Linked DNA regions of Homo sapiens: all the other regions are linked to region 5. Evidence: promoter capture Hi-C in 16 types of primary human blood cells and fetal thymus (Javierre and others, 2016). All regions are on one chromosome and are shown on one strand. The core of a region is centred on a gene start or on the middle of the fragment in contact, and the rest is flanking DNA. Distances in the headings are between cores, read along the strand shown.

Region 1 (5,729 bases), core at 2,714-5,213, 4.3 Mb after region 5:
AAATTAGTAATAATGCAATCTAAATTTTAAAAAAAATCAAATGGGTTGCTTTGTTTTTGGAATGAGACCTAGACAATTTTGAGACAATTCTTAAATTCACATAGAAAACTAACCATAAAAAAAAAGCTCAGAGGAGGAAATAAAGAAAACTGAAGGGACTAACCCTGTTAGACAGTAAAATATAATCTAAACCCTCAACAAATAAGACAGCGTGTTAATAGTTCACAAACAGGCAGACAGACTAAAGGAAGAGAAGTTCAAAAATGAAACAAAATATATGTGAGAATTCAGTATATAATGAGAAAAAAATGGACTAAATAGGTGAGGATGACTGTGTGGTTATCTAGAAAAAATAAAATTATACCTATAACACACTATTCATACAGATAAATGAAGCAAAGATTTAAATGTAAAAATAAACCCACAAAAATAGTAAGATAAAATACAACAGAATTCTTTATAAACTCAAGAATAAAGAAGGCTTTTCTAATTGACTCAAAATACTAAAGCTTAAAAACCTTCTAAATGTCAAAAAATCATAAGCAAAATCACTGAGTTGAAACTGGAAAAACTATTTTCAACTTATCACAAAGGATTAATTTCCCTAATGTATACCAAATTCCCACAAATTGGTAAAAAAAGAATCTCACAGAAAAGTGGGCAGGGTATATAAACTGACAACTCTCAGAAGAGAAAATACAGGTTTTTCTTAAGTATGTGTATGTTCAATTCATTCATAATAGAAATGCAAACTAAAACTACATTGAGTTAAAAAAATCAATTTTTCCACCTATTGGAGTAGCCAAAATATTTGTGGTAACAGGCTGTTTTGATAATATAGGATTGTAGGAACTCTCAACCACGGTTTTTGGAGGTACAAAATAGTAAAACCCTATGGAAAGTACTATCTGTCAACACTACAAATATATATAAGTTAACCCTTGAACAACATAGGATGGAACTGTGAGGGTCCACTTACATGTAGATTTTTTACAACCAAACTCTTATGGAATACAGTATTTGCAACATGCAAAACCCACGTATACAGAGGGCCAACCTTCTGCATACATAGTTCCACAGGGTCACTTGAGGGACCTGAGTATGCGCAGATTTTGGTATACGTGGGCATCCTGGAACCAACTTCCAGCATACACCGACGGACCACTGTACTCTTTAACCCAGCAACTTCGCTTCTAGTAACTTAGCCCCAGGTTATATTTGTACTTGTTGAAATTATAGCTATACAAAGTTATTTAGCACAACGCTGTACAAAATAGCAGAAGGTAGGCTATCTAAAATGTCCACCAATGGAGTAATTAGTTCAATAAATTATGGTATATCCATACGAAGATACTATGCCAACGTAAAATGCAATCGGGAAGAGGAGAAATGAGGCCTCGATATCTACTCAAGAGAGTCTTTAAGATCCGGCAGACTGTCATCATAAGAAAAAGAGCACAAAACTCTATTTCATAAATATCTAAAAGCAGTAGTTATGGCTCCACATACATCACAAACAAAAACCATGATTCAAAACCATGTATACCATGCTAACATCTGTATAAAAAGGGGGGAAATATACATTTTTTATATTTACTTATATATACATAAAAATATCTCTAGAATTATACAGAAAGAAATAAAAGCTACATGGTGTTCAGAGTGAGAACTCAGCGAATGAGTAACAGAGATGGGAGGGAGATACTTTTCATTAAATACTTTTTATGCTTTTTTATTTCTGAATGTAGATACATTATTTTATTAAGGTGAAATTTGATTTGTATTTGAGGGTGAAATTCTGTAAACAGGAGCATTACATAAACACTATGTAATATTTTGACAAAGGTAACTCCAACCAAAACATTGTTCAAGCTGAAAATATCTGTTCATGCAACCACTGAGCTTACTCTACTTTGGCATGGAGTAAGCATATTTAAGATGGCTCAACTAACTTTATAAAATTATAAACCAGATTATGAACTTCAATTGTACTCGAAAACATTCAATTTCTAAAATTAATATTCCTGGTTATCAGGCAGCTGTTTTTATAATAAATATTTCAACCTATTCAGAAACAATATATAAGCACATTTTTAAAACCACAGTATGTATGACTTTGCTGATTAATCTAAAAATCTAAGCCAAGTACCCAGTTGTTCTACAACTGACGGGAATTACTTTCCATAAATTGGCTAACATACAAAGCCTTTCATAAAAGGCTGAGAATTACAGTGTTTTGCAACATAAAGGAACTTTCCCATTTCAGAGACATTCCCAAGGTAGTGCTATCCACAAAAGATGAGTTTACTGAACCGAAACGTTTTGTTTCTAGTGCACCATCTCTTCTACTACATCATACTTCTTTCCACAACAGCTTACCTCTTAGGGATGTAAGGGGAACGTTCTCAGGGCTAAGTTTTAGAACCCAGAAAGTGATAAAAATAAATCTCAGAGAGACAGGACAACTCTTCATGACTTTATAAAAGATATATTTTGTGACAGGCAACTCTAATAATAAAATATTAGCAAAACCACTATAGTACCATTCAAACCATGTCTGGAACTCTGCAATCACAACATTAATAAAATATATTGCTATATACATTACAAATAAACCAAAACCTAAAAAGTAAGGATCATGATTTTTATTCTAGGTAAATTTTATCTGTTTCATGCTTGTATTTCTTGACTTTAATTTCTTCAATCTCTTATCATTATTTTTACCACTAACCCCATAGCATATCAATGATAGTTCCATTTTTCTTGAAAGGGGATTCAAGCAAAAAAAAAAAAAATTATAGTTCCAGGAGGATTTTTTTTATGGAACAAAGTATTATAGTATCATTTCCCAAATTTCATTTAACTGAACACTTTATCTTCAGCTGATGTTAATGTTTTCGTTTATCTCAGGGAACAATAAAGAATGTTGCATTTTAAAAAGCTTACTTTCTGAATTACTACCAAACCCCAAAACAAGGACAAATTAGAAGGGGCCAAATGTCTCTAAAAGTATTTCTCATTGTTTATATTTCATCATATTAAAATCTAGAATGTTTTCTTCTGCCTTCCAGTTTTATCCAGTAAAATAAATCCAATACTGCTTACTTTCTTGTAGCCTTAATAATTCATGTGCAATGATAAGACAAAACTATCAAGATTCATAAACACTCATCAATAACTATATCACTATCATCTTAATGAAAATGAACTTCATTTTACCCAAATTCAAAAAGATACTAAGACATAAATCAGAATGCTCACTAGAAGATTAGAAAATGTGATGTAGACACTCACCTACATAATGCATATTAAGAGCCAAATACTTATACTGGAAAAGAGGGTTATTACTAAGGCTACTTCTTTGGATCTGCTGGAAAAAGGAGCTGACATCCCATCTGTACAGGACATCCAACAGCATGATGCTTGGCACCCTCAGGGCCACATTTAACACTGCCTCCAGTTTCTCCTTTGCAGCCATGTTGTTTTTTTTTTTCTTTTTTTTTTTCTTGGAGAAGACCTAAAATTCAGAAGACACAATATATAAAAATAAAAAGTCAACACAAATCGCTTTTAGATACCCTTTCACGAATCTAATAGGTTGTCACACACTGTACAAAACTATGTGAGAACGTATACTACTTCTCAGCCACAACTACTATTTTTAGATATTCATAAAATAACCTCTGTATTGTGTTTTCACATTGACCCATTCAGTTCTGTCCAATCTTATAATTCTGATTAAATGTTCTGGCCTCAAAACTAATTTTTTAAAAGGCCACTAACTCCAAATCTAGGAACAAAACACTCTGTAAGACTACTGTAACTTGTATAAAATTAACTTGAAAAATTCACTCACTCCAATAAAACTATGATTTATGTAGCTCATAAGAGGGTGAATTTTGAATATTTACTCTATGAAAAAGCCTAAGCAATTCAATAAAAACTTGATAACTGCACGTTTAGTTTGCAGCATCTTGTACTCTATGCTTTTCCTTATTCACTTACAATCAAAATTGAAGTGCTAAATTTACAATCCAGAGAACTCATGATGTAGATACAGGTAGAGGGAACATTATTTACAATATCATTTCCTTGAATCTTTAAAGTTAAATATGGTCTAAAATTCCCATAATCTGCCTTCAAGTGTTCATCAAATTCTTCCCTTGATACACAGATAAGCAGGCACATGGAAGACGCCAGGCATTGAGTCTGCAGCCCCTGTCTCTGCACAGACCATGATAAGTAGTGGGGGGGGGCAGGGGGAGGAGGAAATGAAAGGCAGTTATCAGGACAATTTACTATTTAAAGGGACAATTCAATGCCATACTGCTTTATATGGTAGAACTTCAAATTAATCCAAAAAAATATAAAATAGGGCAAACAAGGCCGGGCGCAGTGGCACACGCCTGTAATCCCAGCACTTTGGGAAGCCGAAGCAGGCAGATCATGAGGTCACGAGTTCGAGACCAGCCTAGCCAATATGGTGAAACTCCGTCTGTACTAAAAATACAAAAATTAGCCGGGCATGGTGGTGCACACCTGTAGTCCCAGCTACTCAGGAGGCTAGGGCAGAAGAATTGCTTGAACCTGGGATGCAGAGGTTGCAGTGAGCAGAGATCACAATACTGCACTCCAGCCTAGGCAACTGAGCTAGACTCCGTCTCAAAAAAAAAAAAAAAAAAAAAAAAGCAAACAAAAGTGGGTAAAGAACAATTTAAAGAGTAAAGATAATTCTGGATTGTTGGCTCTGACAATATCCTTTTAAGAATTTTGCTGAGAAAGCTAAACACATTTCCAGCTTTAGCAGTAATTTCAGACATTACAGGACAAACGAAAACATTTATTTCTGCAGAAAATTATAGTGACAGATTGCTATGCTATGGTTAAATATTTGTCAGTATTTCCATCTTACCCTCCAATTTTCATAGCTTCCTAGTTCAGATAGTCAAAAAGCTAAAGGCAACCCAACTTGGCACACTATCAATAAAAGCTTTTCAATAATCATATATCAACCATTCCCATAACCCAAATGTTTTATATATATAGCCTGCCAATAATATAGATTTAACATTTTTATAGATAAGTACTGCAATTCTGATTATTTCACATGAACAAGATCATTTTCATAATTTTCCTACATAAGAAAAAATATTATTGTGAAAATCAGAACTAAATATCATGTCCTAAGAAGGAAAAATGCACTGAAAAATAAAATCTCTAACCTTTAATATTTATTGCAAACCAACCACTGAGGAATCTAAATTTCTCAAAGCCCATGATATTATTATTTTTTCTAATCCCAGGAAAAAATACACCAAAACATTCACAGAAATTGTTGGTAAAGAGTTTAATGCATTTTAATGTGTATAAGCCATCTAGATAACTTCAGGAATTACAGTGGAAAGACTTACTTTGGTGAGCAAACTGATAACCCAATACCCTCTTGGGAATTTATTTCAAAGTAATATTGAATAGATCTTCTCACAAACCACCAGCCACCATATTTGAAAATCACCACGTACTGAGATGACAGTATTACTGACAGTCTTTATACTGCCATCGAAAAGTAACTATTTTTCTATATTCTGGAATCCAATATAAATCATTACTCTGTTTTTATAAGTAACAAGAGAGGGAGGAGCTATTACTGATTTAACACTTGTAGCCCATATTTATTTCATTTGATTTGGAACCTTTCTCTTTTTTCAATGCTTTGCTATTTTAAAATG
Region 2 (5,395 bases), core at 135-2,634, 3.1 Mb before region 5:
AATCTTTGAAATCCAAATGTGCCTCCCATAATTTTACACTTATGAGAGGCACATCTCAATTCAGACTAGCTATATTTATAATTCAAGTGCTCAGTAGTCACATGCATCTAGTGGCTACTGTATTGGACTGTGTACATGTAATGTTTAAAGATAATGGTCTAAGTAGTTATCTGAGAATGTGTTTCACTTGCAGGTTATGGAAACGTGGTGGAGTTGCGCATTAACAGTGGTGGGAAATTACCCAATTTTGGTTTTGTTGTGTTTGATGATTCTGAGCCTGTTCAGAAAGTCCTTAGCAACAGGGTAAGCAGCTTTTTGTCTTGATTTTTTTTTTTTTTTTTTAAAAAGGGTTTTGGTTCTTTAGAATATATCTTTACAGCTGGGTCTTTATGTAAAGTGCAGTTTATTCCAACATGTTCAGGTAATTTATTCATTATTTTCAACCATTATTAAAAGACTTGCCTGGGGGTTTAGGAAAACAAACCTTATGTTTAAGTAACTTAGTTTTTGAAAACATGAATTATGAGAATGAGAAAATGAATAGTTATCAGTGCACTGAGATTTACGTAACTACCTTTCCTTGGTGGTGGCTTTTGGTATACAGGAGATGAAATACAAACCTACTTCTAACTATTAACTAAGATAAGAGCCAGTTTGCCCAGGACAGTTTTGGTATACTGCTGTTTTTAGAGAATAACTATTAAGAGCTTCTTCTTTAAGTTAATAAATTGGATTTGGAAGATAAATTATATAGTCAACCTACTTGGAACCATCCTTACTAACAGTACTCTTACTCTGTACGTTCTAATAATAGAAGAATTTGTAGAATGGAAATCTTACTGTGGGATCCCCAAAGAAAGCTTCCCTTCCTCTAGCAAAAAACTACTTTTTGTAGTAGTAGAGAAGAACAAGTGTATAAATAATATTAATTTACTAAGCTATACTTTTTTATTGAGGTGAAATTTACATAACAAAATTAACCATTTAAAAATGTACAACTTAATTGCATTTAGAACACATTATTGTGCAACCATTACCTTTAATTCCAAAAGTTTTTTACTAAAAGCCATAAGCTCTTTACTCACTAAGCAGTCATTCCTTGTACCTGTCTCCCAACCCCTGGCAGCCACTAATCTGCTTTCTGTCCCTATGAATTAAAATTGTGTACTTTAAACCATATAATAAAAATACTGCAGATCAGTGATATTCTCCAGAATGTTAATGGGCATACTGCAAAGTTTTTTATTTTTTTATTTTTTTTTTTTTGAGACAGTGTCTCTCTCTGCCACCCAGGCTGGAGTGCAATGGTGTGATCTTGGCTCACTGCAACCTCCACATCCTGGGTTCAAGCAGTTCTCCTGCCTCAACTTCCTGAGTAGCTGGGATTACAGGCACCCGCCACCATGCCCAGCTGATTTTTTTGTATTTTTAGTAGACATGGGGCTTCCCCATGTTAACCAGGCTGATCTCGAACTCCTGACCTCAGGTGATCCGCTGACCTTGGCCTCCCAAAGTGCTGGGATTATAGGTGCGAGCCAATGCACCTGGCCTTACTGCATAGTTTAATGTTGTGGTTATAACATGTCAACCTGAGTATGCAAATATACATTATCTTTCAAATTATTTGACCATTTATTTTTGTGAAGCATCTCCTGCAAAATACTGTTTGAGAAATGAGAGAACAGTGGTTTATCTCACCAAAGCCACTGAAGAACCCAGAAATGTCCAGTAGGCTTTGTAGATAAATCCATCATTCAGCATGTATTAGGCCTAGTGGCCACCCTTCATTTCATGGTATTGATAGAAGTCTACTATGCTCCCTTCACTAATTTTTTGTGTGAGCAGAAATAGCTTATGTAAGACTGATTGCCGTGGTGTATGACATACTGTAGTGTAGCTTACCGTTTCAAAGCTTATTTTTCCCTGGAGGCCTTGGTTTGTATTCTCCTTTCATCACTCATTAGTGTTGTGACCCATGGGACAAGTTACTTAACCTCCCCGGCCCTTAGTTTGCTAGTCCTTAAAGTAGGTATCTACCATCAGAGGGTTGTTGTAAAGGTTAAGTGAGCTAATAAATTTGAATAGAGCTGGGCACAGTGGCTCACGCCTGTAATCCCAGCACTTTGGGAGGCCGAGGCGGGCGGATCACGAGGTCAGGAGATTGAGACCATCCTGGCTAACACGGTGAAACCCCGTCTCTACTAAAAATACAAAAAATTAGCTGGGTGTGGTGGCGGACGCCTGTAGTCCCAGCTACTCGGGAGACTGAGGCAGGAGAATGGCGTGAATCTGGGAGGCGGAGCTTGCAGTGAGCCGAGATCGCGCCACTGCACTCCAGCCTGGGCAGCAGAGCGAGACTCCATCTCAAAAAATAAATAAATAAATAAATTTGAATAGAACACTTCCGCGACACATAGTAAGTACTCTTAGATACTCATTTTAAGAAATTAGAAAATTACATTGCTGGTGAAGAGCATAAATTGAATATATTGAAATGTTTCGTAGCCCCTTAACTACTTTGGCTCTGTTAGGAGGAAACGAAGGCCAAGACTATCCAAAATTCTCAGGAGGTGTTAAAGAGCAAATTAAAGTTTATGTCAAATTAATGAAGTTTTTATTTTAAATGTATATGTACTTTGCATAAATATGTACAGTACCATCTTTTCACACTGGTGATGATGAGGTTTTATTCTAAGCCTCCAAATCTATGGAGAAGGTGGCAATTTTTTTTATTTTTTATTTTTTATTGGGACGGAGTCTCACTCTGTCGCCCATGCTGGAGTGCAGTGGCACGACCTTGGCTCACCACAACTTCCGCCACCCGGGTTCAAGTTGCACTCCAGTCTGGGTGACGAGTGAAACTCTGTCTCATTAAAAAAACAAACAAAAAACTGAACTGTGAGAACTTAGCTGATTTATAATCTGCTGGTTCTTTTTTTTTTCTGAGTCGGAGTCTCGCTCTTTTTCCCAGACTGGAGTACAATGGCGTGATCTTGGCTCACTGCAACCTCCGCCTCCTGGGTTCAAGCAATTCTCCTGCCTCAGCCTCCTTGAATAGCTGGAACTACAGGCGTGTGTCACCATGTCTGGCTAATTTTTGTGTTTTTTTAGTAGAGACGGGGTTTCACCATGTTGGTCAGGCTGGTCTTGAACTCCTGACCTCGTAATCCACCCGTCTCGGCCTCCCAAAGTGCTGGGATTACAGGCATGAGTCACCGTGCCCAGCCTCTGCTGGTTCATTATTACAGCTTTCTTTATCTTTGATAGTGATAGCCAGCTCATCAGTACTCTTAAGTCTGGTCACCTTGATTCTTACAGCCCATCATGTTCAGAGGTGAGGTCCGTCTGAATGTCGAAGAGAAGAAGACTCGAGCTGCCAGGGAAGGCGACCGACGAGATAATCGCCTTCGGGGACCTGGAGGCCCTCGAGGTGGGCTGGGTGGTGGAATGAGAGGCCCTCCCCGTGGAGGCATGGTGCAGAAACCAGGATTTGGAGTGGGAAGGGGGCTTGCGCCACGGCAGTGAATCTTCATGGATCTTCATGCAGCCATACAAACCCTGGTTCCAACAGAATGGTGAATTTTCGACAGCCTTTGGTATCTTGGAGTATGACCCCAGTCTGTTATAAACTGCTTAAGTTTGTATAATTTTACTTTTTTTGTGTGTTAATGGTGTGTGCTCCCTCTCCCTCTCTTCCCTTTCCTGACCTTTAGTCTTTCACTTCCAATTTTGTGGAATGATATTTTAGGAATAACGGACTTTTAAAGAAGCAAAAAAAAAGACTGAATTTCCTTGCTTACTTTGCATATACAGACTGGATTTTTTTTTTTTTTTTACAGCCATTTCCCCAAAGGAATGTCTTGCATATTACTGACATTTGGTATGTTTCATTCATTGGAATATTTCTTATTTTCTACGTGTTTGAAAAGCCTGTAAGAAATACAGGATTTGATAATATTTTGAAGGCAGGAAAAACCCAAATTGTTTCTTCTTTGAGAGTCATGACTACCTTCTGGTGTGGAGAAATTGCCATTGGAAAATTTGACAATTTTGATTCTCACTGGTATGTTTAAAAACTGAATAAAAGGAATAGAATTTTTTTTTGATAAAGGATCACAAAACAATTCTAAAACCTAACTGTTTTTACCATTGAAATTTAAATTGTGATAATAGGTTTTAAATGTCTAGAATGCAACTGATAGGCTTTTCTTGAACTGTTAGTTTTTTTGAAGTAGTTTTTTCATGTTTAATTTGTATTTGTAAAAAAACAAAAAGCAAAAAAATTCCCAAAACCCAGATAACAACCAGAGCAAAACTGTTGTGCCTTCTATTTATCTTTGATTTCAGTCTTGGCAATTGTTTAAAAAAAAAATCTAGATTTGTTTTATTAGGTTCAGAGTATGTGGGGAATTATAGAATCCCTCTTTCATCACTTTGTGTATGTCTTTTGTTAACATATTTGTTATGCCTTATTCTAAAATTGAGTCTCAAACTGGAATGCCTTTGAAGACAGATGCTTCTATAGAGGTTCTTTGACCTAAATAGTTCAGCATTTGTATTTTTATTCTGGTATCTAATCAGATTCCTAATCATAGCCCGTAAGAAGGAATGTTACTTTAATATTGGACTTTGCTCATGTGCTCGTGTCCGCATTTTTTTTTTTCTTAAAATCATAGCCATATGGTAAATTTTCTATTTTGTTATGGTTCTCTTTTATTGATGGGCATGCAGTGGGTGTTACTTGGAAATGGCCAATTTTTATTAAAATATTTCTGGAAGAAAATTTAATCTGGCAATATAGACTAATACTCGTTTCACATATGTGTTATTTGTTGAGTGCTGTGTGTGAGATGGGTGAAGGTTTTGTTTACACGTGTGAAACAAACTTTTGTGTGATTGTCATTACTAATTGAAGGGCAACCAGGTTGTAAAATTCAGCGTATTTATTTTCTTAACAGTATTCATCTTTAGGACTGTCGTTTGAGGATAGCATAGGAATATTTGGTTTGCATTACTGAGAAACTCTAGGTTTGCTGTGATGGTTAAGACCACAGTGAAGTTGGTATTACCAGTTTGGTTCCAGTTCCTCAAATATTTGAAAATTGGCAGCATCTCCTTTACATAAACTTAATGTAACTGAATCACATGGCTTTTTTGTAGGGTTAAAGTAACTTTGGTAACCACTTTTGGCCCAGATCACTGATAATAGGAAGAAATACAACTTATACTTTTGTAGCTTATATTAAGCATGTGGTGGGTGGAAAGAAAAGTTTAGTCTGAGTCACTTTGGAAAAAAAAATTACTTTGTGGTAACTTCAAGGTCATAAATTATGGATAGCCTAGAAATTATCCTTCATGAGTGAATACTAAATTATACATTTCAAAACAGAAGTTC
Region 3 (5,745 bases), core at 1,473-3,972, 4.6 Mb before region 5:
CTCAAAACTTCATCCTGGGCCATCTCTCTTCTCTCTCCACATTCTTCTCCCTGGGTAAGCTTCTCCTCATCCACAGCCGCAATTATCATCTGTCTATCGACAACTTCTCATCTTCATCTCTAGCCCAGACCTCCACGCCACGTCCAAACCCAGGTTTCCAAGAACCTTCTCAACATCTGCATGTGGTGACTGTAAGGCATTTCAAGCTCAAGATGTCTAACATAGAATATATACTTTCACCTCTCTGTCCACATCCTCCTCTCCTCAATCAAACCACCCCCCTGTCTCAGTCCTCTTCTAGTTTTTTCTATCTCAGTGAAAAATACTGCCTACTTGTTTGCACAGAAACCTCAAGGTCCATTCTGACATTGCCTTTTCCTTCCCCTCCCATTCCAACACACCTCTGTGAAAACTTTAGTTCCTGATTAACTCTGGGAACCTTCCACTCTCTTCAACTCCACTGCCACCAGCACCCTCCCCGCTGCCCCCGCCACCTACCACCCGCCCCCCCCCCCCACATACACTGTCTTCTCCCTGGATGCCTGCCTGCACTCCTAACCCTGACTTGTCTTCCCACATCTACTCATACCCACCAGACACACTCCACTCTCCACTGGGCAGGCACACAGGTCACAGTAAAATTCAGATTTCATCCTGTACCTCTTGGGCTTACACCGTCAGTGGCTTCCAATGGCTCTTAGGATGGAGGAAAAAAAACCCTGATGTGGCCAATCCTTCACATGGAGTCTGCCCTCTGCCCACCTTCTACACTCCCCAGTCCCCCTGCTCTCCCTCCGGACTATGCTACAAAGGCCTTTTTGTGTCTATTCTCTCAGCTGTACCTTCTGCCCTAGGCCCTTTGCACAGGTTCTTCCCTCTGCTCAGGTTTCTTCTCTCTGACTCTCCCTTACACACAGTTCTGGTTTCCTCATAACCATTAATTTCTCAGGGAATCCTTCCCTAACTCCCAAGAAAAAAATAGATCCCTCCTTCCTGTTATATGCTTTCACAATAATAGCACACACGCACACAGAGAGCGCTATTGTTCAGAGCTCCTCTAAGCATTTCTGCTGAGAATTCATTTACTCCTTATGACAACCCAGTGAGGTAGAAATTATAATTATCTCCATTGTACAGATAAAGAAACTGAGTCACAGTGACTTGCCCAAAGTCACCTAGTTAATGAGGCAAAGCCAGAATTTGAACCCAGGCAGTGTGACTCCAGTGCAGCTTTTAAACACTATATTATTACATAAGAAAACACTATCCTTTTCCTTCCTGCACTTACCCGCTGTTTGTAACACTGTATTGTATGACTATTAGTTTAGTATGTGTCTCCTCCGTTAGACTGTAAGCTCTATTGGAGTAGAGACAATTCCATCACTAGACTGTAAGCTCTATAGGAGTAGAGACTATTCCATCCCCAATGGTAGGTACTCAATAAATATTTGCTCAAGAAAATGGGAAATGTTGAATGTGTACAGACACATAACATTTTCCATTCAAGTTCAAGACAAAGATAACCACATACCTGGACCTCCTAGGGTTAGGGACTCCTGCGCCCGTAAGAAACATGCTGCCCTCAGATTCTCAATGGGTCGGTGAAGTTAAGAACAGCTCACTCTAACATTCTCCAGCCTACCTCACCTTTTCCCTGCCATCCTTCCCTCAACAACTACAACAGCCTCACATTTAGTATTAATGGTATGTGCTTTGGTTTTAGCAATCTTTTAAAAACACAAAACAGGGTCAACCTCCTCGGAAAAGCCAGTCAGAGACTATCTAATGCCCTCAGAGCAAAGTCCAAACTCTGTTGGGGGTGGGGGAGTTGTAGGCCTTGTCTACTTCTTCATCCTCATGTGCCCTCATTTGTTCCCTCTTCCCCACCTCACCCCACCCCACCTGGACAGCCCAGCAGCGCAGACTAGGGGTTCTGGGTTTAGGGTTCCCAGGCAATAGCAGGGTGTTTTCTCATGCCTAGACTCATGCAGTGCCCTCTGCCAGTCCTCTCCTTTGCACCCAGCAATTTCGGGTGTCTTTATGCCTCAGCTTAGATATCTCTCTGGGGTTCGGTGCTCCTCCTTGGGGCGCCCATAGGCTGCATCTGTCCCTGACAAGGCACACAAGATATTGAACTATAGTTGCTTGGTTACGGACAGTCGTCTCTGTGAGCTTTGAGGGCAACTGCCATGTATTATGCATCTTTTGAATCCCCCTAGCCTAGCCGGGTGCTAGCCCAAGTTAGGTGCTTATTACAGATTTGTTCAGTTAGCGAATGAATCAATGAATAAACTGGCAATTCGTGTCTGGTTCATGGGCACCAAAAACCGTGCGAAATGGATAAATGAGCAGGTAATGGCAGTACAAAGTTCGGATCTAGAGAAAGATCCAGATTAGGGAGTTCAGAGATGAGTAAAACGCAGACCCAGCCATCAGAGAATTAACAAGGAAGATAAATCTCTTCAAGAAGCCAGCCGGAAGGATTAAAAGAGAGTCGTCCAAGTCCCGGCCGGCCCCGGGGGCGGGTCCCTGTCTAGCCCCGCATGCTCCGCGCCAATGGGCGGTATTGTTGATCACGAGTCTCCGCCCCCTTCGCCTTGAGGGGCGGGGCCGGCCACTCCCGGAGAGGGGACTACGTTTCCCGGCGCGCCGCGCGGCCGGAGCGAAAGAGGAGCCGGAAGTGTGGCGCGCGAGGTCTAAGGGCGCGAGGGAAGTGGCGGGCGGGGACTAAGGCGGGGCGTGCAGGTAGCCGGCCGGCCGGGGGTCGCGGGTATGGCCGAGGCCAGGAAGCGGCGGGAGCTACTTCCCCTGATCTACCACCATCTGCTGCGGGCTGGCTATGTGCGTGCGGCGCGGGAAGTGAAGGAGCAGAGCGGCCAGGTAAGCGTTCGTGGGCCGTGTGCGAGGGCCGCGTGCAAGATGTGGAGATCAGCGGCCCGCGGCCCGCGCCCCGTCCCCAGGCGACCCGGCAGGCGCCCGGAGCCGGGTCCCGCAGTGCTCGACGGCGCGGCCAGGGGTACCGGAGGAGCCGCAATCTCTGCCTTCCCACTGCGACTTCAGTTCCCCTGGGCCTCACTTTCCTCATCCGGGCAGTGGGTTGGGCCAGAAAGTGTGCTCGCAGGGGCCGAACTTTGTAATTCCCGCTTCCCTTACCTCCACGCCCTTCCTGGTAGCGGGTATTTTAAGTTTCCTAAGTCTCCCGCCACGTGGCTAGGCTCTGCGCGGCCCCCCCTGGGGCAAGGAGGTTGCTGCGAGTCTCGGGGGTGGATTGCGACCAGCCCCTCGGGGGAGCGCCTGGAAAAGGGACCCTACAGCCTCTTAGTTGAGCTGGAACTCAGGCCTTTAGCGATTGTCTGTACTGAGACGGTCAGCTTTGGTACTCGAACTCGTGGTACAGTCATTTCTTACTTGATTAATTCAACTGTTAATCCGGTACTCAGGGTGCTTCCTGGTGTTCGAATGGTGAGCACCATCTCTCAGCCCTCCTGGAGCTTACACTCTAGTAAGGTAGACAAATCAAAGAATCACAAAAGTGACTATATGCTTAGCACCGCAATAAGTGTTAAGAATGAGAGGGATGGGCCGGGCACGGTAGCTCACGCCTGTAATCCCAGCACTTAGGGAGGCCGAGACTAGCGGATCACCTGAGGTCAGAAGTTCGAGACCAGCCTGGCCAACATGGTGAAACACCGTTTCTACTAAAAATACAAAAATTAGCTGGGCATGTTGGCGCACGCCTGTAATCCTGGCTACTCATGTGGCTGAGGCACAAGAATTGCTTGAACCCGGGAGGCAGAGGTTGCAATGAGTCAAGATCGTGCCACTGCACTCCAGCCTGGGCGATAAAGCGAGACTCTGCCTCAAAAAAAAAAGAGAGATGGATGGCAGATTGCCCTGGTCAGGAATAGCTGAGGTGTAAATGCCTTGTGGTGGGAGGGAACTTGTGTACACACTGGCCTGGAGAAAGTCCACTCTCTTGAGCCCAGGAATTTGAGGATACAGTATGAGCCATGATCATGCCACTGCACTCCAGCCTGGGCAACAGAGCAAGACACTGTCTCAAAAAAAAATTTTTTTTAAGTCCATAGCAGGCCAGGTACGGTAGCTCACGCCTGTAATCCCAGCACTTTGGGAGGCCGAGGCAGGCGGATCACTTGAGGCCAGGAGTTCAAAACCAGCCTGACCGACATGGTGAAACCCTGTCTCTACTAAAAATGCAAAAATTAGCCATGCATGGTGGCATGCACCTGTAGTCCCAGTTACTCGGGAGGCTGAGTCAGGAGAATCACTTGAACCCAGGAGGCAGAGGTTGCACTGAGCTGAGACTGAGCCACTGCACTCCATCCTGGGTGACAAGGCGAGACTCCATCTCAAAAAAAAAAAAAACGTCCATAGTGGCTGAAGTGTGAAGTACAAGGGCCAGATGCCCCTGGGGAGATGGAGGCAGGGGCTGGCTGGAGTGGTCTGGTGGGCAGTTTGATCTTCCTTGGAAGAGCAGTGGTAAACCAATGGAGAGTTTTGAACTGGTGAGACAGTATCCTAAGTAGTCAGATCCCTTTGCCCTGTGGTGTAGGCTCTGCTCCTAATGCTTGCTCTCAGAACCTCCTGGAGGGACTAAAGGGTGATGGGCCCTAAGACGTTATGTATGCTTTTCCCAGTTTCTCTGAACCTCACTTGCTCTTCCTACCGCAGCTATGGTACTTCACAGATAAGGGGAGCAAGAGATAGTACCCATCTTCATTGGAGCAAAATATCCTGCCGTCATGGAGCACACATTCTAGTAGGAGCAGACAGGTGACAAATAGAAAAAGTTTAATAAGTTAATGATATAGTATATCCAATGATAGTTGGTGCTTGCTATAAAAGGCAGGCAAGGGGGATAAGGGATGTCAGACTTCGATTATAAGTAGGGTAGTCAAGGAAGTCTCATTGAGAAGGTGTCATTTGGGCAGAGACCTGAAGGAAATGAGGGAGTGAGCTGTGTAGTTAACAGGGGAGAGAACATTCCAGACAAGAAGAATAGCAAGGCCGCGTTAGAGGCAGGGTGGCCTGACACATTTGAGGACAGCAAGGAGGACACTTTGCCTGAGGTGGAGCAGAGGGAAACTGACTCTTGAAATCTTAGTGTTACCGGCTCACTGCTGGGCACTGACAGATGGTCTTGTTCAAACCAGATAGCAGCCTGCAAGGTAGGTATCGCTGTTGTCCCCATGTTAAGAAGAAATCTGAAGTTCGAAGACGTGACGAGATTAGTTCAGTCCACCCGTGCCCCACATTGCTTAGCCTCATTAGAGTACTTGATATCCTGGCTTATTGACATTTACAGAGACATTGGGCCCTCTGGCCTCTGCTCCAAAGGCCTGGATTCCACCTGGTTCCCTCTGCTTCCACCAAGGGACTGGTACCATTTGGGCCCAGTCTTCTCCCAGCAGACTAGTAGACTGTGGTCATGCCACCTGGATGCCTCAGGTGTCTGGGCTGTGATTCGTGCTTTGGGAAGATTGGCTGGCCACGTCTTTGAAAGCTTTTTTAAAGGTCAAAGGTGGGGAAAACCCTGTCTCATGGCCTCTAGGCATGGATAGTGCCAGAGAGGCTGGGAGCTGGATGAATGCTAGCTTGGAACATTCCACCTCTGGCCTTTCAAAGGGGTTGTCTAAAAAGGTTTTAGTTGGGATTGGTTGTTCTTCTTGTCTCTGGAAGGTTTGGGACAGAACTGGCAGGGCCAAGCAGACATACTTCCCAGAG
Region 4 (6,211 bases), core at 427-2,926, 3.2 Mb before region 5:
TTTTAACTTTCAGAATTTAAATAGGCATTGTATGTTTGTTTAATTATATTGTGCTTTGGCTTCCTTGGACGAAACTATTACTGACTTTACAAAGAAGAATGGATAATTGTGGAAGTAGGTAGGTCAAAAAAAAAAAGGAAAGCCTCGCCCGCCCCCCAGTAATTTGTCAAAAGCAAGTGGGAAAAATCTCTGGTAGTGCAGTACTGCCCTTCCAGTACTCCAGTACAAGCCCTGGAGTTGAATTTAGATTCAGCAACTATTATCTTACATGTAGTTGGTGATCACAATGTGGTGGCACACTAGGTTTATAATTTTATATCTCAGAAATCAGCTATTTACTTTTTTTAAAAAAGTATTCTTGGACATCCTGTCTGTCTTTAGTTGGGAAGGTCAAGTTGCAAGCCAGGTGATAGGGTTAAGAGTAGGAATAATTCACACACACGAATAGTGTCTTAATATTCTGTCTTACAAGGTGGAAAGCAATTTCAAAAAAATTGCCCTCACAGCCTGTAGCTTAGTAAATAAGGTCTTTAGGCGACTTTGTGATAGAGTCCCTCTTCTGTCAGGTGGCCAGTCTGTCATGTAATAAGTTCTTGGTATGTGTGTTGTATCTTAGGTACTTAATCAAAAGTAAAGATTAAAGATGATTGACAGAAATTTGGCTTCCTGGATGGTATACACATCTACTTAGTAGGGATGTAATCTTTGGTGGCTATTAACTTCACTGGCTATATAAAGCATCATTATGTATTTGTGTAACCTTTTGCATATTTAGAGAGTGCTTTCACACATCTTTGGTATTACCATACTTTTACTAAAAAGTGAATTGGAGCTCTGAAACCGAATTGTCAAAACTATTTTGAAAAGCATGTGGTACCTAATAGGGTACTATAGCCAGCTTATTTCCTTAATTGAAAAATCTTAGAGGGATTTTGAATCTGGAATGTATGAATGTGACACCTGCCTGCCCTTGCAGGCTTCTCCCATATGCTGTTTATGCAAAGCCATAGGCTGTGCCTTAAGTACACCCTTGTTTCTGCACTGAGGTTGCCTAGATTTCCCTGGAGTGTATCCACCTGTCTTGATCTGTTTAAGAATTTTGCGGATGAGCATTAGTATTAACTGTAACATATCTTTTCACGTGATGAGAAAGAACAAAGATTTTTTTAAATTGTGAACCTGAGTAGGTTTTAACTTTGGAGTGGGGAAGGGATACACTAAGATAAAAGATAGTTGTTAAGTATTCTGATTCCTGAAGTTTTTTTTCTTTCAGGAAAACAGTATTTTTGAGATAAAGTAAGATTTGTGGAAGAGTTGCAATAGAGAGGTCTTGAATACCCATTATCCACTGTTAACATCTTATGTAATCCAAGTACATTTAACAGAACTGAGAAATTAACATCGATAAAATACTGTTAATGAAAGACTTTATTTGGATTTCCTTAGTTTTTCTACTAATGTCCTTTTTCTGTTCTAGGATCCAGTCCAAGATGCCACATTGTATGTAGTCTCCTGATCTGTGTCAGTTTCTGTCTTTCCTTTTGTCTTTCGTGACCATGACACTTGATCTCATTTGGATTTGATGTTAAGGATTAGACTGAAGTTACAGATTTTTGGGGGAAGAATACCACAGAAATTACCCTTATCACATCAGATTGGGGGTCCATAATATATAACTGGTTGAATTTAACCTGATGATTTGGTTCAGGTGGTATCTGTCAGGTTAGTGTTTTTTTCCCCTTTAGATACTATTCCTTAGATGCTAGTCACCAAGTCCAGCTCACACTCAAGGAGAGAGGGGAATTAGGCTCTACTTTCTAGAGGGAGGAGAATGTGAATTTGTGGAAGTATATTAAAGCTACTGTTATTATTTTGGGGGAGATGCTTCGAAGCCATGGAAATAAAGTTCCCCTCCTTAATTTTAGCATTTTAATGGATCTCGTCTGCAGCTATTATTACTTCGGGGTTCTAATGGTGATTTTTTTTATTTTCCTCATTCCTTCTACAGTATAAATTTTCTGTGAGGAAGATTTGTGTATTCTTCATGTTTTTTCTTTTTTTCATTTATATCACTATAGACCACGGATATTAATTTTATTCTTTGGGTTGTAATCCACAATTATCCTTGCTGATGTTTACTTATTTTTGATTATTATTTATTTTATATTTTTATAAAATATCGTCCAGGCTGTCTCACACTCCTGGGCTCAAGCAATCCTCTTGTCTTGGCCTCTCAAAGTGCTGGGATTACAGGTGTGAGCCACTGTGCTGGCCACAGTTTATTTTGTTGTTCATGTTGTTCCAGCTTTTTTTTTTTTTTTTGGCTCCTTTGTCCTTTTGACACTTCCCTATCTTATCTGTTTTTTAAAAGCATGTTTTTTCTTTCATTAATTACCAGGTATTTCAGGCTCATCTTGCATTTTGCCTGTCTCAGGTCCAGAATCAACCATTTCTCCAAGGAGGCGTCAGGAAGAATTGTGAAGGGAGGTGACAGGTGGTAAATGCGAAGAGTTTGGAAAAATAGATTGACAGTAGGCCCAGTGATGTTGATACTTTTCTTGCTCTGAGCACAGATGTTGGCTTCTGTATTCATGTTACTCCAGTTCTGGGAAAAGATTTTGTTTCTAAATTCCCACGATTTAGAGAACCAGATATCAAATGTTTGAATACATGACATAATCCTGAAACAAAATTTACAAAAATTTAATATATTCTCAAGTTAGTACACACAAACACTTGCTGTTTTTCCTTGGTGTTTTTGACAACTTTTTTAAAGTAAAAAGACCACTTAAATACTATCGTACTCAGAATTAACATTTGACATTTTGCATTGCCCTCTAAGACTCCTTTTTTTCTATACGGGCTTCCATTCCCTTCCTTCCAGGGATCTTTTTCACATCTTTCCAGGCTGTTTTATTGATGGGGAATTTTTAAAAATAGCTTTATTGAGGTATAATTGACAATAAACTGCATGTTTTTAAAATGTACTGCCTGATAATTTCAGACACCTTTTGTAATCCCAGCTTCTCAAAAGACTGAGGCAGCAGAGAGGATTACTTGAGCCCAGATGTTTGAGGCTGCAGTGACCTATGGTCATGCTACTGCACTCCAGCCTGGGCGACACAGGAGACTCTTAAAAGAAGGTATACCCATGAAACCATCACCACAATCAAGATTGTGAACCTATCCATTACCCCCAAAAGTTTTCTCATGTCCCTTTTCCCTCTTTCTTGCTTGTTCCTTCCACCCTTCTCCCTGCAGGAAATCCTTGATCTTTTTATCACTGTAGATTACTTTGCGTTTTTTAGAATTTTTTTGTAAATACATTATGTTCTTTTTTTAATTGCTCAGTGCTAGTCTGTTGTGTAGGCATATCACAATTTTTTGGTTTACCTGTTGGTGGGCATTGAAAAACGGCAGAAGCTGTGTGTTTCCAGCTTTTTGACTGTTACAAATAAAGCTTCTGAACTTTGTGTACAAGTCTTTGTATGGGTATACGCCTTTATTTCTCTTGGGTAAATGCTTAATAGGGGAATGTTTAGATCATGTAGTAGATGTATGCCTAACTTTTAAAGAAACTCCCTGTTTTCCACAGTGGTTGTACCATTTTACATTGCCACCAGCGATGTTTGGGGGGTTCCAGTTCTGCCAGTATGTTGGCTAACAGTGTGTATGGTCAGTCTTTTTAATTTTAGTCATTGTGACAGGTGTTTAGTGGTACCTCACAGGTTTTAATTTGCATTTCTGTAATTGCTAGTGATCAGCATTTTTCATTTGGCATTCATATAATTTCTTTGGCGAAATATCTTTAAGTCTTTTGCTCATATTTTATGGGATTGGTTACTTAATTATTAATTTTTTTGTTTTGAGACAGTGTTTCGCTCTTGTTGCCCGGGCTGGAGTGCAGTGGCGCCATCTCTGCTCACTACAACCTCTGCCTCCTGGGTTTAGGTGATTCTCCTGTCTCAGCCTCCTGAGTAGCTGGGATTACAGGTATCCACCACCACACCCGGCTAATTTTTGTATTTTTAGTAGAGATGGGGTTTCACCATGTTGGCCAAGCTAGTCTCGAACTACTGACTTCGGGTGATATGCCCTCCTCGGCCTCCCAAAGTGCTGGGATTACAGGCATGAGAGTACTTTATATATTCTGGATAGAGGTATTTTAAAAATTAGAGATATGGGTCAGGCGCAGTGGCTCACACCTGTAATCCCAGCACTTTGGGAGGCCGAGGCAGGTGGATCACTTGAGGCCAGGGGTTCGAGACCAGCCTGGGCAACATGGTGAACCCTCATCTCTACTAAAAATACAAAAATTAGTCGGGCGTGGTGGTGTGTGCTTGTAATCCCAGCTGCTTGAGAAACTGAGGCATGAGAATTGCTTGAACCTGGGAGGTGGAGGTTGCGGTGAGCGCCACTGCACTCCAGCCTGGGCGACAGTGGAAGATTCCTTCTAAAAAAAAAAAAATCAGTCAGTCAATCAATCAGGTAAATGCCTTGCAAATATTTACTCCTAATCTGTGGCTTGCCTGCGTGCCTTTTCATTCTTTTGATGGTGTCTTTGCAGGGCAGATGGTTTTAATTTTGAGGCAGTCTACGTGATCAATTCGCTTTCTTCTTCATTTGCTTTTGGTGTGTCTAAAATCTTTGCTTAGTGTCATGCAAGTTTTCTTTAGAAGTTCAGTTTTGGGTTTTACACTTTGATTACACTGAATCATTTTGAGTTAAATTTTGTATGTGGTGTGAGACATGAATTGAGGTTCTGGTTTTTTTTTGTTTTTTCCATATGATATCTAATTGTTTCAGTACCAGTTGTTGAAGAGAGTATACTTTTTCCACTGAATTGTCTTTGCACTTTTCTTGGAAATATAGTTGTCCATGTGGATATGTTAGTGAACTCCATTCTGTTTCATGGATCCATTTGTCTCTTTATGTCTAGCCTGTGTATCTATGTACGGTATCTGGTATTTGTGTATACTAAAAACACTTTTAAATATATGTAACGTTATCACACAGTACATATTTGGCAACTGATTTTTCTTTTTAATAATGTTTTTGAGTTATGTGCTCGCTTTCTGGCAGGCATAAATAGGGTGACATATGTCTTGGTTTGCCAGGGACAGTCCTGATTCACTTCAGTTAACCTGACACTATTAATAGTAGTTGTTTTCAATCTTAAAAGTGCTCTCATATGGTTGTCTTAGGTATAGAAGTTTCCCTAATGTGAATAAACCACAACTTAATATCCATTCCTTATTTGATGGACATGTAGATTGTTATCAATGTTATACTTTACAGATAGGGTGGCAGTTATTTGTTTTTGTCTTGTGTGAGTTTGTTTTGTCTTGGGTGAGTTTCTTTTGTATATGTACCTAGAAGAGAACTGCTAGATTTTCATCAGAGTGTTTTTGATTTTATTAGATAGTGCAAAATTGTTCTCCACTGTGGTTGTACCAGTTGAGACTTCATCTTCAGCAGTCCTGTAGGCTCTTTTTTTTACTTGGTTGCCAATGTTTGGTGTTGACTGAGATTTTAATACTTTGGCGCATCTCTTGTAAGGTATCTCCTGTGAGAAGTGATTTTATTAATTGCATTTTCCTGGTTACTTACTCTGTTTTGTTTGCTGTCCATTTAGTACTTTCCTGAGAATTGGCTGCTCCATTTCATTTGCCTGTTTTTCTCTTGGGTTACTCTTTTAGTGATTTGTATGCAGGTTTATATACATTCTACTAATCTTTTATTATATGATATTATATTTTCTTACTATAAAACTGGCACTGAAAATGGGCTATGAAGGCATTTGGCTACTTTTTATTTTGTTGGAGTGAGCTTTGCCATTAAAAATGCAGGTGGAGTATGGGCTGCCTTTATGTTTCCCTGCCCGTCTGTTAAAAATTGGAGGATAATGCTCATAGTTATTTCCCCCTCCGCCGCTAGCTGATGGAGTCTTGCTCATTCGCCTAGGCTGGAGTGCGGTGGTGCGATCTTGGCTCATTGCAAGAGCTCCGCCTCCCGGGTTCACTCTGTTCTCCTGCCTCAGCCTCCTGAGTTGCTGGGACTACAGGCGCCCACCACCATGCCTGGCCAGTTTTTTTGTATTTTTAGTAGAGACGGGGTTTTACCGCATTAGCCAGGATGGTCTCTATCTCCTGGCCTCATGATCGCCCACCTTGGCTTCCTAAAGTGCTGGGATTACAGGTGTGAGCCACCG
Region 5 (6,307 bases), core at 223-2,722:
CAAGGCTAGGTGATCAGAGGAAAAAGGGAGAGTCTAAAAACAGGGTTAGTAAAAACAAGGTTGGGCATTACAATATGGAGTCCGGGAGACAGGCTGGTGTGAGCTGTGATCGAGCCACTGCACTCAAGCCTGGGCAATAGAGTGAGACCCTGTCTCAAAAAAACAAAACAAACAAAAATATGAAAGTACGAATCTGGAATTAAAAAGGGAAAGAACAGTTTCTGCAACTGGGTGGAAATTCTGGCTCTGGGTTCTGGGTACTCAAAGATGAAGGAGAAGCAAATGGAGTGACTCTTGATTTGCTTGATTGAGGGCCAGCTGTGTGAAGGAAGCTGTATGTGGTAAATGGTGTGGAAGAAAGTTTCCTTTCAACTCAAAAATGCTAAAATGCTCAGATTCTGCACTACTCGTGTGTTGCTTGTTTGCATTGGGTATCTGACATTCCTGCATAGGTAGCAAACCGCAATCTGAACTACCTGTTATTCTAATACAGAGGGGTCAAATACATATATTTGAAGGCGTCTAGGGGCACAAATTTGGAGGCACCTAGTCGTAGATTGATCACTGGTTTGCCAGTTGTTAGTTGAGAGACTTTAACATATCCTAAATATGTTTCCTCATTTGAAGAAGGAAAATGATAATCCATGCCTTGTTGGATTGCTGTGAGGAATAAATGAGATTTAGTGAAATACCTGCCTGACATAAGGCAGTAAATGCCAGATGAATATAAACTCATTCTTGAAGGTCAACCAGATTAGTAGGGATTAGGACAGCATACATCATATTTGAACTATTTGCTCTTTAAAAGAGATTTTAGGCTAGGTTTCGTGGCTCATACCTCTAATCCTAGCACTTTGGGAGGCCGAGGAGGGCAGATTGCTTGAGCCCAGGAATTCGAGATCAGCCTGGGCAATTTGGGGAAACTCCTTATCTATAAAAAATACAAAAATTAGCCGGGCGTGGTGATGTGCGCCTGTAGTCACAGCTACTTGGGAGGCTGAGGTAAGAGGGTGGCTTGAGCCCGGGGTCGAGGCTGCAGTGAGACTAGGTCATTGCTACCACACTCCAGCCTAAGCGAGAGAGAGACCCTGTTTCAATAAAATGAAATAAAATAGCTTTCACACTATTTCAACTGATCTTTACAACAAGCTTGTGCCCTAAGGTTAGTCATTTCTGATAAGAAAACTGAGGACCACCGGATTAGGTGGCTTGTTCACGGATTCTGTTCCCCTACTCCTTTCTAGTTTGTGAGTTGGGACTTTAGTTTTTCTGAATCCAGGTGAATTTTCGGAAGCCCACGTGCTTTCGGCCTTTATTAATTAATTCATTCCCAAGCCAGGTTCGCCTGACCACACCTCGAGCGCCGGCCCAGTGCTTGCGATCTTCGTGACGGCACCTGGGGTGTAAGTACTGCTTGTGGGAGAGCCCCACAGGAAATCCAGAGTATTGCGCATGCGTGCTGTCCAGAAGGCGCTTGAACTCGGCGGCTTCCGTAGCGGGAGGGCGAAAGATGGCGGCGGCAGTACTGGGACAGTTGGGTAAGGATTTCTTAGTGGTTAAGCGACAGAAGGGAGTCGAGATGGAATCTGAGTTGACGGCTTGTGTTGATGTTGCAGGTGCGTTATGGATACATAACCTGAGGAGCCGGGGGAAGCTGGCCTTGGGGTGAGTCTCTCGCTTCGGAGTTTCGGAAGGGCCCAAGGCATCTTTAGTATTCTGCCAGTTGGTAACTGAGCGCCTCCGTGCCTAACTGTGTTTTAGGCTCTGGGGTTACTGAGGCGAATGAGACAGCCCGAGTCTCTGCTTTGTCACTCTATTTTTTCTCCACCTTATTGCATAAACTGTACAGGGATCAGGATTACCCATAACCCAAGGGCGATTGTAAATGCGATTTCCGAACGTCTACTGTGATCTTTCTGGACAAGGTTAGACTATTCCATCTCCATATGGAAGCGTCCAACTTTTCAAGTTACCTCTCTGATTACTTGCTTACATGGGCAGGGACCGTGTTGTGGACAACTCTGCTTTACGTCGTACCTGACATTGTGTTTAGCGGTTTATATGCTTTAACTCACTCTCATAACATTCTACGAGTAGGTTCTGCTATACCCGTTTTTCAGACAAGGAAATTGAAGTCCCCAAACGTAAAATAACTTGCCTAAGGCCACTCAGTTGTAGGAAATTTTGAAGCTTTATACCAGAGCATTCTGTAGCCTTAGGACAAAAGCATTCATTAAAGGTTAGGGTAAGTAGTCGCTGTATTTCTCCCCAAAATAAAAAATCGGTATTTGAAAATTGATAATCTGATTGTAAATTTTCTGGTCTGTCCATTTGTTAGCATTGATTTTGGTTTAGTTCATAGGCTTTGCAGACAGATGAGTTGTATATGAATCCATTTTTTAACTGTGATCTTGGAAAAGTTACTTATTCTTAATAAGCTTCAGTTATCACTTTTATGATATGAGCGTTATGTTAGTACCTATCTCTTAGGATTTAAAAAATTTTTTAATTTTTATTTATTTATTTTTTTAGATGAAGTGTTGCTATGTTGCCCATGCTGGTCTCAAACTTAAGGGCTGAAACAATTCTCTTGCCTCAGCCTCCTGAAGTACTGGGATTACAGGCACATGCCATCTATGTAGCTCTAGTAGATTTTAAAAAGGAAATTCAAACAAGATAATGCATATGAAGTATTTAGTATGTTTATGGCATGTGATAATCCCACTCTGAATTCTAGTTGCCATTAATGTTTTTATTATTATAAATTATTACTGAGTTCCCAATTATATTTAACCCTTTTCTAAGTTTTTGGGTCCGAGGGGGATAAAGAGGTGGGCTAAAGAAGAAAATAGGAAGTAGTAGCTCTTAGGATTTGTCTGTACTCTTCTTAGATAATCTTCTATCACTCTTCCCCCAACCATGCTGATTTACTTACTTTTTCTGAATATACTTTGCACTTACTTGCTTCTTGGCTTTTCCTACTATGCCCTCACATCTTGTCTATAACAGCAGTCCTACCCATTATTCAAACCTCTGTTCAGATGTTTTCCCTTCAGGAAGTTTTCACTGGTTTCTCTAAAACGGAAAGAAATTAGTTTTTCCTTCCTTTTAGCATGTGTGCCTTCTATGATGACTTCATGTATATGTGTATGTGCCCTTTACTAGCTTGTGTATCTTGGAGAAGTAGGGACATTTATTTATTGTTGTACCTCCAGCATAAGGTCTTACACAGGCAAGTATTTTGATGTTGATTTGAATTGTCTTGCACCAACTTGTATTAAGAAGCTCTGAGCAAGAAACTTAAGCAGTTTGCCTTTAGTCTTTTCCTCTATGTCATGATACAAGAGTGTTTGATTTTGCTAGATAATCTCTAAGGCTATTTGCAATTCTGAAGTTATTACATAATTTTGTGAATCCTTATTTTGGATTTTCTAGTGGGGAAAATGACCATAAGAAAACTAAGTAGAAAGGTATAAATAATGTTCATGATAACCATGTAAAATTTTAGCATATAATCTGATTCAGTGATGAGAAACTTTTTTTTCCTTTTTTTTTTGGAGACACGGTCTCGCTCTGTGCCTAGGCTGAAGTGCAGTGCTGTGATCATAGCTCACTGCAGCCTCAAACTCCCGGGCTCCCACCTCAGCTTCCTAAGTAGCTAGAACTACAGGTGCATGCCATCACACCTGGCTAATTTTTAGGGTCTTGCTGTGTTGCTCAGGCTGGTCTCTAACTCCTGGGCTCAAGTGATCCTCCTGCCTTGGCCTGGAGGGATTACAGGCATGAGCCGCCAGGAAACTTAATTGCATATAGGCCCCAGACTAGAAATAAATAAACTAAGGGAAGTTGTCTATGTAAAATGAGAGTGGGAGGGCCTGTGGTGGTCAGTAGAGTGTATTCCTCATCTAAAAACATTGAATTAGGTTAAGAAAACTGCTGCTGACCAAATAAAACATTTCTGCAGGATATATATATATATACACACATATATGCACATATATACATATATACACATATATATACATATATACACATACATACATGTATATACACACACATATATATATAGATATTAAAATTTTTTTTTTTTTAAAGACAGCGTTTTGCTGTGTCACCCAGGCTGGAGTGCGGTATCATGATCATAGCTCACTGCAGCCTCGATTCAAGCCATCTTCCCAACTCAGCCTCCCAAGCAGCTGGGATCACAGGCGTGCACTACTACACCTGACTTTTTTTTGAGTTTTAGTAGAGACAAAGTCCTGTTATATTGCCCGGCTGGTCTGAAACTCCTGGGCTTAAGTAATCTCCCACCTCAGTCTCCCAAAGTGCTGGGATTACTCTGTAGGCTATATTTGTTAGCTGACTGACAGTTTTCAGTTTTTGAATTCCAAGTCTCCTATTTTACTGATGCATACATTTGAGAAGTTTTGTGACTTACTGAAGGTTACACAGTTAAATGTCAAAGTGAGGATCTAAACAAAATATTTTCTGGGACTACAGGTGCAGGCCGCCATACCTGGCTAAGTTTTGTATTTTTAGTAGAGATGGGGTTTCACCATGTTGGCCAAGCTGGTCTCAAACTCCTAGGCTCAAACGATCCGCCCGCTTTGGCCTCCCAAAGTGCTGGGATTACAGGCATGAGCCACCACGCCCAGCCAAAAAAATATTTTTTTTTAGGAGACAGAGTCTCACTATGTTGTACAGGCTGGTCTCGCACTCTTGGGCTCAAGTGATCTTCCCACCTCAGGCTCCCGAGTCTCTGGGATTACAGACGTGAGCCACCAAGCCTGTCTGTACCACCCTTTAGATGGGGGCATATCCTCTTAAGCTTTCCTCAGTTTCCAACCATGTGTAAAATTTTGGCATAGTTATTTACACTCAGTCCTCTTACCTTACCTGTCTCTGTATTCTTTCATTGATTCTACAAATATGTATTTAGTGCCTGCTCTGAGCTGGGAACTATTCTAGCACTGAGGATTTTGCAGGGAACAGGAACAGACAATAATCCCTTGCCATTGTGGGGTGTACAATATAGTAAGGGGGGCAAATAAGCAAAATAAGTAAAATATAGAGTATATTAGATAGTGACATCTGCTTATGAGAAAATAAAGCAGAGATTGAGAATAAGAAGTATGTGTGTTTGAGAGAGGAACTTGTAGTTTTAGATAGGGAAGGCCTCACTAAAAGATAATCTTTGAGTAAAGATTTGAAGGAAATGAGGAAGCATGCTGTGCTAACATCTGAACAAACAGCATTCTGTGCAGATAGAATAGTAAGTGCAACAGCTCCAAGGAACCATATCTGGTGTCAGGAACAATGACAAAAAGGAGAGGGATAGTGATAGGAGATGAGGTCAGAGAGGAAGGGGCAGTCATAAATCATATAGAGCCTTATTATTTTTTGTAAATACTTTGGCTTTTATTCTGAGCAAGATGGGAAACTGTTGTAAGGTTTTGAGCATGGAGTTATATGATCTGACTTATGTTTATGAGTGGTTCTTTCTGGCTGCTGTGTTGAGAATAGACTGGGGTGGGGATGGGGAGCAAGGATGGAAGCAGAGACCGTTGGCTATTTCAGGTATGAGATCATGGTGGCTTGGATTAGGGTGGCCGTGAAGGTAAGTGAATGGTTGGATTCTGGCAGTATGTTAACCACACCTGACAGATCTTGTTGATGCATTGGATGGGAGGTGTGAGAAAGAAGGGTGACACCAAAGTTTATGACCTGAGCAACTGGAAGGGTAGAGTTAACCACTTACTGAGCTAGGAAGACTTCCAGAGGAGCAGGTTTGGGGAGAATATTAGTAGGTCACTTTTGGGTTTGTTAAATCTGAGCTGTTGTAAGCATCCAAGTAGAGATACGAGTAGGCAATTGGGTATATGAGTTTATAGAGTTCAGGGAACGGATGTACATTTGGGAGTCATCAATGCATGGATAATGTTTAAAGCTGCAAAGCTGGTTGACTTCACCAAGGGAGTGAGTGTAGATAGAAAGAGTCCGAGGATTGATTCCTGCCTAAGGCAGCCAATATTACAGACCAGGGAGGGAGACAAGGAAACAACAAAGGAGACTGTGGGGGAGTGGCCAGAGAGGGGAGAAGAAAACCCCAAGTGTCCTGGAACCCAATTAAAGAAAGTGTCTCAAGGAAGAGTGAGTGACCAGAGATACTTAGGTCACTCTCAGATGAGGACTGATAATTAGAATTAGAATTTGTCTGTATTTTCTGTTTTAAGGTTGCTTCATTTTGTTTTAATTGAGTGTTATTCCAGCAATTGGCCAGGAGAGGGCACATAGGAACTTTTGATTT

Evidence for each region. The method cuts DNA at HindIII sites, captures the fragments that hold promoters and counts their contacts. A CHiCAGO score of 5 or more calls a contact.
Region 1: a fragment that was not itself captured here is called in contact with the fragment with the promoter of MRPL22 in region 5 in 4 of 17 cell types (non-activated CD4 T cells, activated CD4 T cells, naive CD8 T cells and 1 more); the score reaches 12.3 in non-activated CD4 T cells.
Region 2: a contact is called between a fragment that was not itself captured here and the fragment with the promoter of MRPL22 in region 5, in 1 of 17 cell types (M0 macrophages). The highest score is 5.6, in M0 macrophages.
Region 3: a contact is called between the fragment with the promoter of TCOF1 here and the fragment with the promoter of MRPL22 in region 5, in 2 of 17 cell types (fetal thymus and naive CD4 T cells). The highest score is 10.8, in fetal thymus.
Region 4: a fragment that was not itself captured here is called in contact with the fragment with the promoter of MRPL22 in region 5 in 6 of 17 cell types (naive B cells, non-activated CD4 T cells, fetal thymus and 3 more); the score reaches 9.9 in naive B cells.

The regions. Positions count from the first base shown.
Region 1 is chr5:159,200,140-159,205,868 of GRCh38, forward strand. RNF145 (ring finger protein 145) reads right to left here. Exons shown (of 11, transcript NM_001199383.2): 2 at 3,295-3,517. The coding sequence starts at 3,478. Among named protein-coding and RNA genes, the nearest start is that of RNF145, 6.5 kb to the right of the region's middle. The HindIII fragment of the contact is 2,049 bases long and covers 2,940-4,988 here.
Region 2 is chr5:151,800,567-151,805,961 of GRCh38, forward strand. It overlaps G3BP1 (G3BP stress granule assembly factor 1), which reads left to right. Exons shown (of 12, transcript NM_005754.3): 11 at 194-303; 12 at 3,319-5,395. The coding sequence ends at 3,525. Among named protein-coding and RNA genes, the nearest start is that of G3BP1, 31 kb to the left of the region's middle. The HindIII fragment of the contact is 1,052 bases long and covers 859-1,910 here.
Region 3 is chr5:150,354,975-150,360,719 of GRCh38, forward strand. TCOF1 (treacle ribosome biogenesis factor 1) reads left to right here and starts at 2,723. Exons shown (of 27, transcript NM_001371623.1): 1 at 2,723-2,880. The coding sequence starts at 2,773. LOC105378226 (a long non-coding RNA gene) reads right to left here and starts at 2,446. Exons shown (of 4, transcript XR_944407.3): 1 at 1,532-2,446; 2 at 594-696; 3 at 1-189. RefSeq lists an enhancer at 1,741-1,910 and silencers at 2,511-2,850, 2,931-3,150. The HindIII fragment of the contact is 5,465 bases long and covers 58-5,522 here.
Region 4 is chr5:151,774,592-151,780,802 of GRCh38, forward strand. All of the region lies in intron 1 of G3BP1 (G3BP stress granule assembly factor 1), which reads left to right. Among named protein-coding and RNA genes, the nearest start is that of G3BP1, 5.7 kb to the left of the region's middle. The HindIII fragment of the contact is 3,564 bases long and covers 1-3,458 here.
Region 5 is chr5:154,939,601-154,945,907 of GRCh38, forward strand. It overlaps MRPL22 (mitochondrial ribosomal protein L22), which reads left to right and starts at 1,473. Exons shown (of 7, transcript NM_014180.4): 1 at 1,473-1,538; 2 at 1,617-1,665. The coding sequence starts at 1,511. RefSeq lists an enhancer at 1,413-1,572. The HindIII fragment of the contact is 1,041 bases long and covers 1,148-2,188 here.